Linked DNA regions of Homo sapiens: region 2 is linked to region 1. The links are contacts of gene promoters, found by promoter capture Hi-C in human tissues and cell types (Jung and others, 2019). All regions are on one chromosome and are shown on one strand. Each heading gives the region's core, a stretch centred on a gene start or on the middle of the fragment in contact. The rest is flanking DNA. Distances are from core to core; before and after follow the strand shown. Region 1 holds the start of SLC24A3 (solute carrier family 24 member 3). Region 2 overlaps DTD1 (D-aminoacyl-tRNA deacylase 1).

Region 1 (6,498 bases), core at 1,794-4,293:
GAAAGTGCCTTTTCTGGTTTTCTCTTCCTCTCTCCTCCTCTCTTCTAAATCAATGGCTTGCCTGCCACACCTGGGAATGTTTGGTGTTGTGGAGACATAACCTTGCTTTGTCCTGGAAACTACTCCATGAGGTCTGTGAGCTGTGGTCAGCAGGAGGCTGGAGAGCTGGAAATATCACAGGAGGGCACCGAGCTGCACCTAGTTTGGCCACAGACGAGGTCCCTTTCACTGGCTGGTGGATGATCTGGCCTGGGCTGAGAGTTAGTGAATATAGTCACGGGAGGCTTTCTATTCTTTGTCCTAAAGGTAGAACTGTGAGAAAGACTAACCAACTTTATTCACCACATCAGGTCCAAAGTCTCTGCAGGGACCTGAAAACAGAATGTTTATGGAAGGTCAAAACAGGGGGAGTAGACAGTGACCCCAGAACCCAGCCCAAGGTGGGGAGGTGCTCTGTAAAGACACCTGTCTTATTCCTGAAAGGGTGAAGACCCCCACACATCTAGGAGTGATGCCTCTCTCTCCAGGAAAGAAATACTCTCAGACTGAAGTATCAGAGCACATTCTTCATTTCAACTCTTGCTCCTTTCACAGTTCGGTTTCTGGAGGGAGCTTCCAAAGACTGAAAGGGACAGGTAGGAAAAAAAATGACTGTTTTCTTTGGAGAGGAGCTCCTGAGGCCTGTCTCACTTGGCCATCACCTGGGGGGCTGAGGAACCTATCAGGTCTCAGTTGCTGTCAGCCTAGGGACCAGGATCCCCACCTTTCTTCCCTAGGTGGTGCCTGGCCGCCCAAGGAATCACTCTCTGTGCTTTACTTTAACAGTGCCCTTCACTCCAAAATCTGTCAAAATGAATAGAAACCCAAGAATCATTTCTGTGTGCCACAGGAGTGCTCTCCCCCGGCCCCCCCGCCCCACCCCGCCACACACACACACATACACTCCTGGTGCTGAGATAATTTCCAAGAAATTACCAGTTCCTGGTTATTCTCCTTCCTCCTGGCTCCCTTCCTAACTCCCCCTCCATCACCAGATTACACAATTCCTTGAGCCTATGGTATTTTCCCCTGGAGCTTGTGTTCATTTCCTAACTCAATTAATTCCAGATTCCCTCTCTCACCTTCTATTTTCCCTCGTTTTCACTAGAAAACACTATTTGAGTGACTTTCCTGGTTAGTTGAATTCTTCTCAGCTCCTAAACTTTCTTTTCTGTGTCTGCAAAAGCTTGATGGAGATAACACAACTAGAGAATTCTCCCCACACACTCCAGCACGGATGAACTCGTATTTTTACACCCTCCTTAGTATCTGCAGCCAAAGCAAAGGGAAAACCACTCAGGCATTGTGGGGGAGGTACTCTGAGTGTCTGGAAGATGCCAGGCTGAGAACAGCAGTCATAAATGATATACCCACAAAGGAAAAGTCTCTGGTCTCCCTGGGTGAGATGGCCTTTCTCTGGAAAGGAGGCCACCTATAACCACTTCCTTTGCCCTTTGCTGTGACCTTGCTGTCCCCGGGCGCTGTCAGGGATTGTCTGGGAGGAGGTCGGGGGGGGTAGGTCAGTCACAGGTGGGGACACATTTGAACAGACCTAGACAGGGGAGCCTTATACAGAGGTTCTCTGCTTCCTTCCCACCTCCTTAGGGTATGAAGCTAGATTCCCTGATCTGAATGGATTCCATGGAGACAGTCACCTAGACAGACACCTGGTTTCAGGTGATCCCTTTCTGGACAAGGTCTTTTGTTTTCAGCGCCCCCCCACCCTCCGCCCCAACAATGGCATCTCCTCCTCAGCCCAGCCAGCAGCCCCAGGCTAGCATCTGGGAAGAGTCCAGGGAAGCCCAATGAGGGAGAGTGGGCTGTGTCTGGGATGGCCAGGGATCCCCTCCAAATGGGCACCTGCGGCAGGTCGTGAGTCCAGCCATCTCTAGGGCAGCCCACACCTTCAGCAAGGAGGGGCAGGAGACCTAGAATGGGGGAAATGGGAGGACTAAGATTCTAACGTTGGAGGTAGGGCAGGCTGGTGTTACCTGCACAAGGCCAGAAGCCTCTTCAGGCCGCCTCTCCAGGGACCGTGCCAGCTGTCCCCACTTCGATCAGCCACAGTATTGGACTTGGTCCAGCACGAACAGAAAGCGAAGTGTGAGCCCAAGACAGAGGGGGGAGCCGGACACCCTTATGGAACTAACAGCCTCTGGGGAGGCCTGTTCCAGATCCCGAGTCGGGCGCACAGGGGGATCCCCGCAAGGGGGCAGAGGGAAACCCGGGAGGCCCGCGAGAAGAGGCGAGGCCAGAGGCTGGGCGCGGGCAGCCAAGCGCACTCGCGGCGCCCCGACTCCAGGTAGCACGTAGAGAGGAGGCTGAAGAGCCCCTCGGTTTTCCGAAAGTTTCCAGCGAATCCTTCTTGGTGAAGATCGGCCTCTGGGAGGCAGCGTGTGTGCTTCCCGAGAGGGGGCCCCCTGCGCCGTCCCTCTTCCCCTGGCACAGAAGGGTTGAAGGACTGCACACAGGGATCCCTCCCCAGCCCAGTCTCCTCCCAGCGCGCCCCCTCCCCGCCATGCCGGCCAGCGCCGGGCTGTGTCCCAGGCACTGCCCCCCGCCAACCCTGGCCCGACCAGCCTCGCCGCTGCAGGCTGCCGGGAGCTGCGCTAGCTCATGCTCCCAGCTCGCTCGGTGCTCCCTGTTCGCTCCGGCCCGGCCCCGGCCCCCATCGCGCCGACCATGGAATAGGCGGGCGGCCCCGCGAGGCGCTCCTGCAGCCGGCGAGGCCAGAGCCAGTCCGGGGTGGCTTTGCCAACCGGCGGAGTTGGCCAGCGGCGGGCCCTCCTACCGTCGGTCCTTCCCCGCTCCTCCTCCTCTGCCCCCTCCGCCCCCGCCTCCCGGCCGCCCCCGCCGCCCCCGCCGCGCCGCCGCCCCAGGCCGAGCGCGGGCGCGGAGCGTGGGAGCCATGGCGCGCGAGGAGGAGCGGGACCCCGAGCGCCGGGAGGCGGCGGCGCGGGCGAGCGGCGAGGAGGAGGAGGAGGGAGGGGAGGAGGGACTGGGCGATAGCGACGAGGAGGGCGACGACGAGGAGACGGGCAGCGGCGAGGAGGAGGAAGAGGAGGCGGAGGCGGCGGCCGGGTGGGAGCGCAGCGAGGACGCGCGGCTGCTGCGCGCAGGGCTGCCTCCTGCCGCTGTCCCCGCCGCGGCCGCCCGCGACAGGAGCGGCCGCCGCCCGCCGAGGCCGCCGCCCGGCCGCCCGAGGATGCGGCCGTCCGGCGACGAGGACCGCGCGCGTCGCCGCCGCCGCCGCCGCCGCCGGAGGGACCTTCTGCTGAGCCAGCTCTGCTTCCTGGCCTCGGTGGCGCTGCTGCTCTGGTCGCTGTCGAGCCTGCGAGAGCAGAAGGGTGAGTGCACGCTGCCTGCCCCGAGTGGGCGCTGCGGCTCCGGCGGCTCGGGGCTCCCGGGGCTGGGCGCGGGGCTCCTTCGGGCGGCCCGGCCGGAGCCCCAGGATAAGCGGGCTGGGTTGGCGGGGGGAGTGGGATGCCAGGCACGAGGACTCCCCCTGCCCCACGCAGAGGCATGGAGGTGGGGACCCTGAGCGCCAGCAGCCAGCAGGCTTAGGCGTCTGGCCGCCCTGGGAACATTTACCTGTGCCCGCCTGTGCGCTGCTTACTCGCGAGCTGGAGGTACTGCTGGTGGCGGTGGTGGGGAGTCTTACTCTCCATCAGCCCCCAAGGCCAGGGATAAAGTTGTGGTGGTAGACCCGGCACCTGTGCAGGTGACCACCTGTATACTCCTTGGCTTGCTGAAGGATTCAAGGGGACTGCTTAACACACAGTTGTCCGTATGTTCTCCATCCAGAGAGCAGGCGGGATGGCCCGAGTAGAGAGCTCTTCAACCCCCTTTCAGAACAGGTGCCGGGAACTTCAGGGAGAGAAAAAGTGTTGGCCCTCCAGCTATGGGCTAGTAGGGGACTTGTTCTCCTAAAATGACCACTCACTGGGAAGACAGGGAATTCTTCCTCAGAGGTCCCTTTTGCAGAGCTGCTGCTGTGGAAGAAATGGTTTGCAGTGGACCACGCATCACACTGTCCGCTCCTCTACCGGTGCTCTGCGCAAAGTCTGCCCTTTAACCCACAACTTTTGTCTTGTCTTTGTCCTTGGCCTTTCTTGAGCTGAAATAGATCTTGTGTGCTCCCAACAGTTGTCTGCTGAAACAGCTTCGATCCTGGGATTCAGCTGTCTATAAAATGAAGGAAAAACATGGGAGAATAACTGTTGTAAAATGGTTTTATATCCCGGCCGTGGAAGTGGCACGATTAGTGGGAAAACAGCCATGTAAAGGGTTGTGAGAAAGAAACAAAACAAAACAAAACAAACAAACAAAAAAACAGTTACAAGTATGTGCTGTGGTGTTGAGGTCGACGTAGCTCTAATGCAAGATGTCATGAGGTGCAGAATAAAGACATTTTGATAGTCACCGTAAAATATTTTCAAAGGTGCCATGAATTTAAAAAGGGATCTCCCCCAGCTTGGCTGGTCTCCTGCTTGGTGGGGAAGTGAAACAGGCGTCAGTCTTCATTCAGTCTTAGCAGACCGCTTGACAGACTTCATCATTTATGGTAATAGCAGAGAGTCCGTCTTGGTCTTCAGTGAAGCTGTTCAAGACTCCACGGCTCTCTCCATTGCTCTCCTGGATCTCAGATCCCGTAGCCTTGGGTTCTGACATCAGGAAGGGGGCCGTGCCGGTGTGAGGGAAGCAGAATCTCTCCCAGGGCAGATTCACATCTGCCAGACTTCTGTCTACTGACAGTCTCACTAAGGGGGTTTTCCCGAATCCCATTTTTATTTTCCTTTTTTATTTTTCTCCAGTGAAAAACCAGTTTATAGTTCATGCCACCTTTGGAAAGGGCTATTCCTAGTGGATTACACGCTGGCCATTTTTTTCTGGTATGTTGGGGCTCTATGAGACATAGAGTTCCCACCACTTTCAAGAATATAAAAGACATTTTTTTCTGGGTGAAGGATGTGACTCATATAGTTAAGTCAATCAGTGACAGGGGGCTGCCTGGGCCCTGAAAAGCTGGGATTTGGGAGGAGAGGAGGCCAGACACTCTGCAAACTTGAAACCTGGGGACTGGAATGTCATTTTGGAATGGTTTCCCTGGTAGTGACATTTCTATTCAGGTGCCACTGACTCAGATTTAGTTCCATAGCACGGCCTTTTCCGCATCCCTCCCTCTGTCCTACCTTTCTCCTTCCTACCTTTCATATTCTTTTTTCCTCTCACTTCCTCTTCCTCCCTTCTCATCTCTGTTGGTCTTAGGACCCCTCCACACCCCAGTAACTGAAGATCTAACAGGCAAAAGCCAAATGTTAAGGAGGATGCCAGCCAGCCTCCCTGTGTTGCCCCCGAATGACATATGAGTTGAAATGGTCTCCAATCACTTTTTTTTCCGTTAGGTATTGATGATTTTGGTATGTGATGCACAGTAGTATTTTGCAGCAAGACACAGGTTTTTCTAGATAATTTTTAACATATTAATTAATGTGTGTGAATCTGCAAATGATAATTTTGCAAGGGGAATTGTCGTTTGGCACACGTAAGCATTTGAATGGTGACTTTTACCCTGGAAACTTGGAGCACACACTACCTAGTGGTCCTTTGGTACAGATACTGAAGTTTGGAATGGAGCATTGTTTCGAAGACCTTGTGGTGTAGAGAGGCTGAGTGATTAGCTTAAAGTCACACAGCATTCGAAGAGTAGAGGAAAAAACCAACCTGAGGTAACCTGGTTTTTTGTTCCCTACTCTGTCCTCATATTCAAACCACCATTTGGGTGTAGCTTTGTAATATTTATATAATCTCATAGGGGGTACCTTCATAATGATCAAAGGTAATATTTTCATTTAGTCACCTTGAAAGCCATGCAGTGATTGTTAAATGTAACTTCTCAGAAGCTCGTTTTCTAACACATATTGACCTTTCCCTCCCTCCTTCCTTCTGTTGGCCCTTCCTCCCTCTCTCCTTCCTTCATTCTTTCTTCCTTCCTGCTCCCTTCCTTTCTCTCTTCTTTCCTCTTAAAATGACAGTTCTTTTACCAAAGCAAAATAGAGATGTGTGATAATTATATTATATGATGTTTCATAACATTTCTAATCATATGGAATCCAAGATCCCTTTCTAGACATCTAACGAAACTCAGATTTGGCTATGTACTGAAAAGTTTTGGTTATATACTGAAAACATTTTCCACATATTCAGTATTTGGTTATATGCAGTAAGAATCTACATTGATTCTTTTCTGCTGAGGTGTAACATGAGGTCTGCTTAATTTAGGTCAGGAAGAATTAGTGCTGGAATCAAGAAATTCTAACAACAAAAGCAATAATAATAACTGGAATTTTGGTGGGCTCTTATGTGCCAGGCAATGCGCTATTCCCACCTTATAGGTATTGCTTTATTTAATCTGCAGACACTCTTTTCGGAGGCATGAGCCTTCAGTGGTGGAAAGCA
Region 2 (6,498 bases), core at 1,759-4,258, 600 kb before region 1:
TGGAATCGAACCAGCAGCTGTCTCTAGAACCTGAGCTTCACTGATATCTTTGCTTCACTGTAAAATTCACATCTTCTTGGCTTATTGGCCTTTTCTGTTATCTTTCTTTTTTTTTATTTTGCGACAGAGTCTCACTCTGTCGCCCAGGCTGGAGTGCATTGGCGCAATCTGGGCTCACTGCAACCTCCTCCTCCCAGGTTCAAGCGATTCTCCTGCCTCAGCCTCCTAAGTAGCTGGAACTATAGGCGCCTGCCACCACACCTGGCTAATTTTTGTATTTTTAGTAGAAGCAGGGTTTCACCATGTTGGCCAGGTTGGTCTGGAACTCCTGACCTCAAGTGATCTGCACACTTCCGCCTCCCAAAGTGCTGGGATTACAGGCGTGAGCCACTGCACCTGGCCCTTTTCTGTTATTTTTCTGTATTTATTGAGTCTACTGGGACTTTCCTGCCTTCTCCGTCATGATCAAGGAAATCAGCGGAGGGGTTTTTGGGCCTCATTTGGGCCTAGGAAGGGGAGCAGTGTGCCCTGAGGCCAGAGTGTCCTTCCTTTCTGAGCAGGATGTTCATCCAGGATTTTAGTCCTGTTTCTGCTGGGGGAGATGTTATTGGTTCCATTCAAGTCAGTTTTGTAACTTATCCATCAATAAGACACTTTATCTGTCAGCCCTTGTGCTAGGCTCTGGGTATACAGTGCCGAGTAAGAGTGATGCAGTTCCTGCCCTAAAGGAGCTCACGGTCTAGAGAAGAGAGATACTAAACTAGTGTGGCTGTTTCTGCCACAGCGTGGTAACATTCCTCAGAAACCTCCTGCTCTGCGAAACTGTTGCTAAAACTCTCAGGGCTTATGGGAAAAATGGAGTTAATAGCAGAACACCAAAGTCCTGTGGCTGGGTTGGAAGGCAGTAGGCACTTGTTTTTTATTTTCATAAGATACTTTTAGGGGCTTCTGCTGCCAGTGCTGAGGGCTTTTCTGCTGAAGGCTGTCATTTTATTCCCACTAGTCTGGCTCTCCTTGTCTGAGAAAACCCACCTCTGCTGAGATACAGCCTCTGTGGTATATGCACTTTCATTTACCAGTTGTATATGAGCGATTCTCCTTTCAGAAACAAGTGTCATCAGAACCTTCTGAGGTGACTGGTGTGATGCATACTTTGAGGGAGTGTTAGGGATGAATAACAGGGTTAGTTGCTAAGGTGGTGGCTGCACATGTGCTTGGGCATGATTTTGTCTGAGCTGTGTTTAGGTCATTTGTTGATTCTTCTTGACTCATCAAACCAATACCCATGCAGAGTGTTGTTGATCTTTATGCTTGTATGTGGGTATGTACTGTTGCCCCTCGTTGAATATTGACTGGCCACTAGGGTGCATGCTATTTAAATTGGAAACACCCCCACTGTTTTTCTTTTATATTTTACATAAAGTGTAAAAGATTGGAGACAGTTTCGCCATGTTGCCCAGGCTGGTCTCAAACTCCTGGGCTCAAGTGGTCTGCCCGCCTTGGCCTCCCAAAGTGCTGGGATACAGGTGTGAGCCACTGCACCCAGCCTATTTTTCTTTTAAAAACTCTCTGAGCCTCTTCTTCTATTGTAATGACCTGGGGCACTGGACAGACCAGCCTCAGAGCAGAGATCAGGTTTTCCCAGCATGCTCCTGCTCAAGCACTGAGCATCCCACATCCCTAGAAACCCCTAAGTCCTGGGCAAACTAGGATGGCTGGCCACCCTAAGAAGCAGCCCTGTGGCAGTGCAGTTCTCGGGAAAACTTGGGCCAGGTGATATCCTGAATGCATTGTGTAAAAATGCACTCCTCTTTGCATAGGAGACAAGGTAGGGCTAGGATGAACATCGGGGCAGGAGGATTAGCTGTCTGCTTCGGCTGGAGAAATGACAGAGTTCACGGCCAGGTCCCCAGTAAAGCCGCTGGAGTATCCAGCTCTAGGCAGGTGTGTGACTGGCCTGAGCAGGTTCAAGAGGTTCAGGGACAGACTTGGATGGAGGAGTGGAAGAGAGACCACATTGCTGAAAAACACTGTTGGCAATCTGGCAACTTGGTCATCTGGTGCACTGGCTGACTTCTATGTTTGTTAGCGGCAAAGACAGCCGGGAGAGAGATTTAAGCTGAGATGAGAAGGATGAGAGAAGCTGCAGGCTGTAGTATCAGGAAGGGTTTTTTGTGTGGGCCCATTTAGAGGCACTTCCTGTGTCCCAGCAAGCTCCCTAGGCTTGCACACATTTTCCCTTCTCCCTCCCTCTCTCCCTTCCTCCTTCCCTTCCTCCTGCTCACTCTTTCTTCCACTCTCCTTCAATCCCTTCCTTCCTTCCTTTCTTCCTTCTAAAACGGCCGCAGTGTACCCTCTTCCCCTTTCTGCTCTCCTCCCCCTACTCCTCCCAACTTCTCATCCTTGGCCTCCCCACGTTGCTGGGCTCCTCCCAACCTGGTGGTCTCAGGGCAGTTGGCTTCATAACATGGTGCTGGCTTCCTCCACAGTGAGCATTGCAAGAGCAGGCATTCCAAGATGGGAATAGATGTGCTGATCCCTTCAGACCAGGCCTGGAAAGTGGCACAGCCTCACTTCTGTCATATAATGTTGGTCAAAGCAGTCTCACAGCCTACCCCGATTCAAGGGGAGGAGATACAGTCCCACGCTGTAATGACAGGAGTGTCAAAGAGTTTGAAGCCATCTCTAGTCTTCCACAGCTCATAACCCTGCTGCTCTCAAAGGGTAGAACTTTCCTCATTTCATGGCTGTTTCTCGAATCATTGCTTTAGGGGAAAAACTAGTGAATAGTCCTGTCATATTTTCCCCTCTACTGAGAATGAGCTAAACGTTGAGGGTGCATTATTGGGTCCCCAGACTGAGTAGGCACAGGAAACTGGGTCACTTGTATCCTCAACAGCCCTTCAGGGATCTCCAGCCTTCACATGAATGCTGAAGGCCCCATTTGGCAGGAGGCATTGAACGCTGTCCAAGTTGAGTGTTAAGCATGTATTGCTTTTATAGTTAGAAAAAAAACAAGTTATACCAAAATGGAATAGTGGAGAAGGGCAACCTTTGCTCTCAAGCTTCTAGTTCCAGCTCTGAGGCATTTGTAATGGGCTCAGGGAAACATTCACTAGTCAGCTTTGTTCAGCAAATCAGAAGCTGCTACAGTATTCAAAAGGATTACCTGTATATTCTCTGCTGGGTCTGATTTGTTGTGGGCATCTAAGAGCTAGAGAAATGTGGACAGACACGTCAGGAGGGCAGCAGTTTATGACCGCTTCTGCTCTGTGTACTCCATGGGACGTCCATGATGCCCGTGCCTCTCCCGCTTCATAATGCAAAGAGAAAGTGCCAGGAGCTGGAAGACCACGTCTAAGTTTTTGTTTTGTGCTTAGTACTTGATTTCTGTGGATTTGTTTAATTTTCTACTCTGTTTACTATTTAAAGCATTTTAACAGCATGAGTGAACTTTCAGTGGAAGCCTGTTCTATATACTTTGGCAAAGACTGTGATGCCAAAGGCATTATTTTTCTTGTAAATTTAGGAAATTATAATGTGGGATCGTGTCTTCATTGTTAATGAATGGCAGGGTTGGCAAACTGTGGTACAGGCTGTTGCTCTTGTGTAAAAGTTTGACACAGATGTCCAACTGATTTTGGCCAAATACATTTATATTTTCTCTCATTCTTTCCTTTTCTTTCATTCTCTTCATTAATTTGCTTACTGACTTCATTATTTATTCCTGCATGTCTCTTTTTTGGTCTTACATGTAAATCATCTTCACAGCTACAATGTAGCATACCTCTTCCCAAATGGCAAACTATATCTACTTTCGTTATTAAACCCTGTCTTTTCGTGATTTCATTGATTTGCTTAGTTGATTGTCTATTGTGAACAGCAACCTGATCTTGCCAGTTCTCCCTTCCCCTACCTAAAATAACCATGGCCACCCTAAAAGCAATGTCAGCCACCACAGTGGCTCACACCTATAATCCCAGCACTTTGGGAGGTCGAAGCAGGAGAATCACTTCAGCCCAGGAGTTCTAGACCAGCCTGGGCAGCATAGCAAGACCCCATCTCTAAAAAGAAAAGAAAAAAAGAAAAAAAAAGAAAAAATTAGCTGAGTGTGATGGTGCACGCCTATAGTCCCAGCTAATTGAGAGGCTGAGGCAGGAGGATTGCTTGGGCCCAGGAGTTCAAGGCAGCAGCAAGCTATGATCACACCACTGCACTCTAGCCCGGGTGATAGAGTAAGACCCTGTCTCTAAAAAATTTTTTTAAAAAAGCAGTGTCAGTGGTATGGTGGGGTTTTGCACTCCTGCACTAATGGCAGCATGCCTTATGCACAGTGGGTGCTTTGTGATTTTGTGCAATGAATGCCTCTGGGTCTCAGGAGATGAGGACTGGTCCATTTTGGTGGCTTTGCCATCCTTTCTATTCTTTCCATTCTCTCTGGGCTCTTTCCCCCTCCTGTCCTTATTCTCCTTCCTCACTTTTATCTCATTTCCTGAATTTCCTCCGCACTTCTGGCCATGAATTGCAGGATCAGCTCTTTCTCCTTAGCCGAGAGTCTATGATACAATTCAATTGGAAGAAATAAAGATAATTTTTAAAAGAAGATACAGGCATAGGTAGAAAGAAACTTCTGTTCAGTGTTGTTACAATCCAAGTAAGTAAGGTGACTTGGGATGAAACGAAAAGTCTGAATCATTCAGCAGGAGGAATGGGAAGAGTTCAAAACCTTATTGATTCAGGGACTACGAATTCAGAAAAAAATTATATATAATATATATAATATTAGATATATAATTTTTAATAATGTGTATATATAATATAATGTATATACATATACACACACATATATATTTGTGACCATATATATGAGGGTTTACTTCTGGACTCACAGTTCTAGTTCATTGTTCTATGTTTCTGTACTTACACAGTACCATACTGTTTTGATTACTGTAACTTTGTAGTAAGTTTTGAAATTGGGAGGTGTGAGTCCTCTAACTTTATTCTTCTAATTAATGATTGAATAGGTAGTAGGATGAGGTAGTTCAGACATCAAAATGATATGAAAAGGTCTAAACTGGAAAGGTTTGCTCTCATTCGTGTCTCTGTCCAGCCTGTTTTTCTTGCTCTCTAGAGGTAATTACTTTTATTATTTTTTTCTATCCATCTATCCATTTGCAAATGTGAGCAAATATGAATTTTAAAAATATTCCCCTTTCTATACAAAAGGTATGATGTGATGTACTGTTTTATATCTTGGCTTTAAAAAAAAATTCACAGTGTGTCCTAGAGATTCTTTTCATACCAGTTCATAGAGACTTCTTTCTTTTTTTTTCTCTTCTATTCTGAACAAATTAAATCTCTCTTTTTAAACTGCTGTGTACTGTTCTGTGGCAGGACCATAGCCTGGCTTATTTAATAGATCTTGTATTGTTGGACTCCTGGATTATTTCTAATTTATGTCTCTTAAAAACAACAGTGACATGATGAATACATTTGTACATATGCCACTTCATATGCAGTCGGGAGATACCTGTTGGAGAAATTCTCAGAAATGGGATAGACGGTGCCAGATGGCCGTTTGTAGGCACCGCACCTTTCTGCAGTGTGAGACTACCATATTTCTCCTAGCTCTGTTGGCAGAGTGTATTTTGAACTTCTAGAATTTCACCCATCTGATAGATATCCCATTGTAGTTTTAATGCACAGAGTGTGGTTGGACATTTTTTCAGATGTTTGACTGACTTATTTCCTTTTCTCTTAACTGTTTATGTGCTTTGTCCTTTTTTTGTTTTTGTTTTTTTGTTTTTTTTTGAGACAGGGTCTGGCTCTTTGTCACCCAGGCTGGACTGTAGTGGCATCATGATCATGGGTCACTGCAGCCTCAACCTCCCAGGCTAAAGCAATCCTCCCACCTCAGCCTCCTGAGTAGCTGGGGCCACAGGCATGTTCCACCATTCCCAGCTAATATAGATATAAAAATTATATATATGAACACATCTATAATACATATTAATACATATATAATACAAAAATTATATATACATACATATGTGTGTGTATATATGTATATGTATATATAATTATACACATATATGTGTATATATACATAATTTTATACACACACACACACACACACACACACACACACACACACACATATAATTTTTTTTTTTGAGATGGAGTTTTGCTCTTGTTGCCCAGGCTGGAATGTAATGGCGTCATCTTGGCTCACTGCAACCTCCACTTCCCTGGTTCAAGCAATTCTCCTGCCTCAGCCTCCCGAGTAGCTGGGATTACAGGCACCTGCCACCATGCCCAGCTAATTTTTGTATTTTTAGTAGAGATGGGGTTTCACCATGTTGGCCAGGCTCATCTCGAACTCTTGATCTCAGGTACTCCTCCTGCTTTGGCCTTCCAAAGTGCTGGGATCACAGGCGTGAGTCACCGTGCCTGGCTATTTTTATATTTTGTAGAAACAAGGTCTCACTATGTTGCCCA

Evidence for each region. The method cuts DNA at HindIII sites, captures the fragments that hold promoters and counts their contacts. A contact is called where the count stands out against the background at its distance.
Region 2: a fragment that was not itself captured here is called in contact with the fragment with the promoter of SLC24A3 in region 1 in 1 of the 25 tissues and cell types used here (IMR-90 fibroblasts).

Annotation. Positions count from the first base shown.
Region 1 is chr20:19,209,599-19,216,096 of GRCh38, forward strand. SLC24A3 (solute carrier family 24 member 3) reads left to right here and starts at 3,044. Exons shown (of 17, transcript NM_020689.4): 1 at 3,044-3,386. The coding sequence starts at 3,245. It overlaps LOC101929547 (a long non-coding RNA gene), which reads right to left and starts at 2,870. Exons shown (of 3, transcript XR_007067549.1): 1 at 2,031-2,870; 2 at 466-843; 3 at 1-371. RefSeq lists a silencer at 3,395-3,444. The HindIII fragment of the contact is 12,474 bases long and covers 1-6,498 here.
Region 2 is chr20:18,612,557-18,619,054 of GRCh38, forward strand. The region is part of intron 3 of DTD1 (D-aminoacyl-tRNA deacylase 1); the gene reads left to right. Among named protein-coding and RNA genes, the nearest start is that of DTD1, 28 kb to the left of the region's middle. The HindIII fragment of the contact is 7,223 bases long and covers 1-6,498 here.